2 separate regions of the Homo sapiens genome follow, and region 1 is linked to region 2. The links are contacts of gene promoters, found by promoter capture Hi-C in human tissues and cell types (Jung and others, 2019). All regions are on one chromosome and are shown on one strand. Each heading gives the region's core, a stretch centred on a gene start or on the middle of the fragment in contact. The rest is flanking DNA. Distances are from core to core; before and after follow the strand shown. Region 1 overlaps ANO4 (anoctamin 4). Region 2 holds the start of SLC5A8 (solute carrier family 5 member 8).

Region 1 (2,700 bases), core at 73-2,572, 82 kb before region 2:
TCTCCTTTGAATTAATTATCTGACCATTCTTTTCCCACCTTCCTTCCAGACTCCTCTTTCTATTCCTTAGGTGGTGCCATCAGACCAGTTCAGGCCTCACCTGTCCTATCATCTTGCATTACACACGCCTCCCCTGGTCACTTTGCACTCTCCACATACCCCAGAGGGTCCACATCCTTCTTCAGCCAACTCTCTAACCTCATTCAGGATGCACAGTAGACCTGACGCTGTTACATTCTCCTCTGTTTTAGCACCTCGTGTTTTGTATAAAGCACCTCATTTCATATCTGATCCCAGACCTCCCAAAAGACCTAAGGGATCGAATGAGAAGAGAGAAGTACTTGATTCAGGAGATGATGTATGAAGCAGAACTGGAACGTCTCCAGAAGGAACGAAAGGAGAGGAAGAAGAATGGAAAAGCACACCACAACGAGTGGCCGTGACCATGTAGGTGAGAGGTGTGCTCAGCGTCTGAGGCCATTCCGAGGTTGAATGGGTGCTTTAAACTCCCTGAAGCAAAGCTTACCATTGTTGCAGTAACAGGGATCAAAATAAACTCCTTAGAAGCTTCCCAATCCAAAAGAAGCTTGTTTTTTACTTTAATCGTTGCAAATTTTGCTTGATCTTCCCCTCCCACATACCTTCTGCAACACTTCTCTGCCTTCTTGCCAGACTCTGGCCTATCAGTCAAGGTCTTCATGAATTGGCCTAGGAGTTCCCTGAAACAAAGCGTCCTCTCTCTTTTCCTCCAGCCGGGCTGTTTTCTTTAATATCCCCAGGGAAACATGCCCCTTCTTTCTAGGTGGGTGGGAGGCAGACATTAGCAAAGAGAATTCTTCCTGAAAGCCTCAGCGGCCAGAGACCAAGGTGCAACAGGGCTGTCCTGGGCTGCAGGACCAGTAACTGATGAAGAATTTCTTCTGGCCCCACCACTACTGGCTGCTTTCTTCCCAAAAAGGCCATTTCTAATTTTTGCTTGAAAGCATAGTATCTGCCTGCCTGTTTCTATTTCCCCAATAGTTGGCAGGATGTGATGTTGCTTTAGACTGCCCTTCTGACTCAGTCTGTTCACCCATAAAGCAAGCATAAAAATGTTTATACCATCCCTGACTCCATTTGGGGTTACAAATTCTTTGAATGCCTTTGGTGCATGGTAAGTACAAACTATTGCACCTCATGTTTTAAAGCAATTGTGTATGCATAAGATCTTTATGCCTTCTTTTCTCTTTCCAGAAAATAGTCCCTTTCCAGGCCAAGGACCTGAATTCTGTTTACTTCTTCTGGCTGTGCAAAAGCACACTCAAGTGAATGACTAAAAATGCAACCACAGTGCATGTTGCAGATACCGGCGGCCGCAGGAGGGGCAGCATCCAGTAGAGGACTGGCGTTGGAGTCACACTGCTGTGAAATCACGTTGCAGTCCAGCGCACAATTGCTATCTATCCATAGACCATTCTTGACCAAGCAAGCATGCACATTATGGGCAGTTACATTCTCAAGTTTTTAAAATCAAGGGGAACTTGTATACTGGGCCTGTTTTTCAGCCTGTTTGCTACCTTTTTTGCATTCTATCCCATGTGAATTTTACAGACACTGGGCTAAAAAGGGTATTCAGACACATGGACACACATTCCTAGAATGTCATCATATGGTCCTAATTCCATGTCACCAACAACACAGACAAGACCCTGTTTACAACTTTTTCTTTCCTTTTTTTTAATTTTAGACCTTTCTGAGAAGATTATTATATATGACATATCTATAGCTATGTGTATGGCCATAGATGTATTTCTGTGTGTACATATGTATAGTCATGTATTCCTGCATATGTACATACAAATACAGAGATATATAAAGTACATAGAAATTCCTTACTTGTAAATAGCCAAAAAGTACTGACATGAGTGAATTTTCACATTTAAATAGTCATCAATATGAAGCCATGATTAATGCTTGTATAATGTGATGCAATAAAATTTAAAATAAATTTCTGCACATGGAATATTTTCAGCTGGCTCTTCTGACATTCTGTTGTATTTTTGTCTCATAGAATAAGAGAAATCACAGAATAAGTAAGTGGAATCTTTAATGTGAGGAGAATATCTGAGGGACTGTGCAAGAAATCAGATGTTTGTTTATTGCATAAATGCATGCAAAAACAAACAATATAGCCAAATATCAGCGTATGTTTCTGATGAACTTTTTTCCCCAGTCTTGATGGTGGAATATTTTAAATATAAGCCAAAATGAATATGCCGTAATTTGAGGATTTGATAATCTACCCAATTTTATAAGTCCTCATAAGACTAGAATATTAGAAATATCCTACTTCAACACTATAATCTTCATTAAAACCTCAGTTGTCTGCAATTAACAATTGCAAAAATACAGAACCAACCTAAGTGCCCATCAACCAAGGAGTGGATAAAGAAAATGTAGTATATAGCCGGGCACGGTGGCTCACGCCTATAATTCCAGCACTTTGGGAGGCCGAGGCGGGTGGATCACGAAGTCAGGAGATTGAGACGATCCTGGCTAACACGGTGAAACCCTGTCTCTACTAAAAATACAAAAAAATTAGCTGGGCGTGGTGGTGGGTGCCTGTAGTCCCAGCTACTAGGGAGGCTGAGTCAGGAGAATGGCATGAACCCGGGTGGTGGAGCTTGCAGTGAGCGGAGATCGCGCTGCTGCACTCCAGCC
Region 2 (2,700 bases), core at 167-2,666:
TACACCTTGCATCATCTCATTTAATCCTCCCAACTGGATGAGGTAGGTGATATTATTTTATTTTTGAGGAATAGGCACAAAAGGTTGGGTAAGTCACCCAAGGTCACCCAGCTAGTAAGTGGTAGAATCTGGTCCGAAATACAGGTACTGGTACACCTTAGCCACTTGGGTGCCTGTTTCAGTGGAAAGGGGGTGGGTGTGGAAGGGGAAGGAAGGGGAGTACAAATTCTTTACCAACTATCTTGGAAGAGTGAATGGGGCTGAGGACCTGGAACAAGAGTATTCCTTTCAAGAAGCAGGGCCTGAGACCTGAAGAACTTACCTTCCCCAAAAATCTTTCCCCTTGCCTGGGAATCAAAGATGCTAAAGGTAGAAAGGACCATAGCGAGCACTACTGTTGCAATCCGTTCACTTTGGAAGCCTCTTTTTTTCACTAAGCCCAGGAGAGTAAATCCCAAGAATTTTTTCACCCTTAGAGGACGCCTCTCAGTAGAAGGGAAAGATGCCAGGTGAAGATCGGGGGACGGGGAGGAGTGAAGGGAGGGTGATGATGACGATGGACGGGGAGAGATTTCGATGTGGCAGTGACAGTCTGCCCCCAAGAAAACGCCTCCAGAGGTCTGCAGAGTCCCCTTCCCCCGCGCCCTGCATGGTCCCAGCCCACCCTGCCCCTTACCTCGTAGGTGCTGGTAATTCCCAGTTTGTAGAACACCGGGAGGAAGACCTCCGCGCTGATGACCACCACAAAGAAGTAGGTGAAGGCAAAGATGCTAAAAATGGCCCCAAAACGGTAGACCTCGGAGGGGGTGCCCAGGACAGTGACGGCTGACATGAAGCTAGCGGTGAGGGACAGCGCCACGGGCACTGCGGTCATTCTGCGGCCGCCCATCAGGAAGTCCTTGGAGGTCTGCTGGCCGCCCCCAGCGAAGGCGTAGTAGATGCCGATGGCGGCCGAGATGACCAGCATGCCCGCGAACACCACGTAGTCCCACACCACGAAGGTGCCGATGCCCCGTGGCGTGTCCATGGCCGCACGGTCGCCTGAGCCCTGCGCGCAAACTGGTGGCCCCGCGGCGCGCAGCCGGAGCCCGGCGCGCACTTCTTATCCCGGATCCCTGGCGCGCAGGCGTGGCGTCCCGCGGGGACTGGAGGCGTCCTCCAGGTGTCGGCCTCCGAACGCACCCCGAGGCGGGGTGAGGGCTGGCAGTCGCCCCTGCACCCGCCGCTGCGAGCCGCGCCCCTCAAACCCAGGTATGGGACCTCGGAAAATCGACCCGCTGCCCTGAGTGCTCACCACGTGAGGAACTGGAGTGGCCGAGTTCGCCAAGGCGCCGGGGACACCTGAGCAGATGAGAACTGGAGCCTCCAGCTGCTTCCAGCGAATCTACACAGGGAGCGCTCTGGGCAGGTTTTGTTCAAGTGGTACCCGAGGGGACGCACCATTTAAATAAGCAGGCGACCGGTGGAGGAATGTGGGACAAAGGGCAATTGTCACGCCTTGAATTTTAGCTTTCCAGTTCAACAGTCCGGGTCCTTACGGAAAGGGACGCCTGGAGTTTTTAGACTGCCTTATTTGATAGGTTAATGGGTGACAGTAGATTAATGCAGGTGACAATCTGTAGTGAACAGAGATCACAGTCCTTAGACAGGTCATCGATCGTAAAGGAGAGCAGGAAATCTGTGCTACTGTTTCCTTGTGTTTTTACTCAACAAACGTTTCTGAGCCCCTTCAGCCTGTTGTTGGAAATAGTAGTTATTGGAAGATTAACAATAATATCCGCTTTTTAATGAGCCTTCATGTGACACATACATGCTTGGCACGTTTTATATTAGTCAGTGTAATTCTTTTGGTGAACCAGTGTAATTCTCATTACCCTTGAGATAGGCATTTTCAAATGCAGAAATTACTGTCGAATGATTAAGTCACTTGCCCAATCAACTGGCAGAGATTAAGATCTTTAATCTAGGTCTGATTTCAGAGTTTGCTCTCTTAATCACAATGTGTAGATACGTGTTATAGGTAGGCAAAATGTGTACACTTAAATGAAGACACTTGAAAACACTGAAGAAAAGATCATTTCCAGCATCACCACTCAGGACATATTTTAAGTGGCTTGTCTTGAAATACTATTAACACATGAATCACACTCAAATAATATGATTCTCAGGTTTTCCTTCTAAAATAGACGCTCCAGCCAAATGTGCTCAGCTATCAATCCATTTCAGGCAGTCCTTGTTCATTTGTATACAACTTTATAATATACCATCTGGTCCTAGGTAAACAATCCACAGAATGCATTTAGTCTAGCCTAGTGTATGATAAAAAAGCTATATCAGATTTTATTTTTTGTAAACTGATGTTATTTGTATAATATTTTCAGAAGGAAATAAAGAGGGAAATAGAAACTAAATCCAAGTAATTCAATTGGTTAAACAAATATGTGGTTTGGAATTACGTCCTACCAGTGTGAAATGTACTATATTTATATATTACATATGATGTTATACATACTTATATATAATACATAAATTATATGTGTATATTATATAACTTATATATATATATAAAGCAACCTGTTAGAGTAACACACAAAAGAATCCACCTTGATCCTTCTGGGAATTGGATTCACTTCTGGGAACTTCTTTAAAGCCAACAGCCCTAGATATGGGAAAATGCTATCTAAACAAAATTCATCTTCT

What was found. Contacts are between HindIII fragments. The study calls those that stand out against the background at their distance.
Region 1: a contact is called between a fragment that was not itself captured here and the fragment with the promoter of SLC5A8 in region 2, in 2 of the 25 tissues and cell types used here (aorta and mesenchymal stem cells).

Annotation. Positions count from the first base shown.
Region 1 is chr12:101,126,628-101,129,327 of GRCh38, forward strand. ANO4 (anoctamin 4) reads left to right here. Exons shown (of 28, transcript NM_001286615.2): 27 at 252-447; 28 at 1,234-2,002. The coding sequence ends at 443. Among named protein-coding and RNA genes, the nearest start is that of SLC5A8, 82 kb to the right of the region's middle. The HindIII fragment of the contact is 4,776 bases long and covers 1-2,700 here.
Region 2 is chr12:101,208,822-101,211,521 of GRCh38, forward strand. SLC5A8 (solute carrier family 5 member 8) reads right to left here and starts at 1,417. Exons shown (of 15, transcript NM_145913.5): 1 at 677-1,417. The coding sequence starts at 1,027. The HindIII fragment of the contact is 10,158 bases long and covers 1-2,700 here.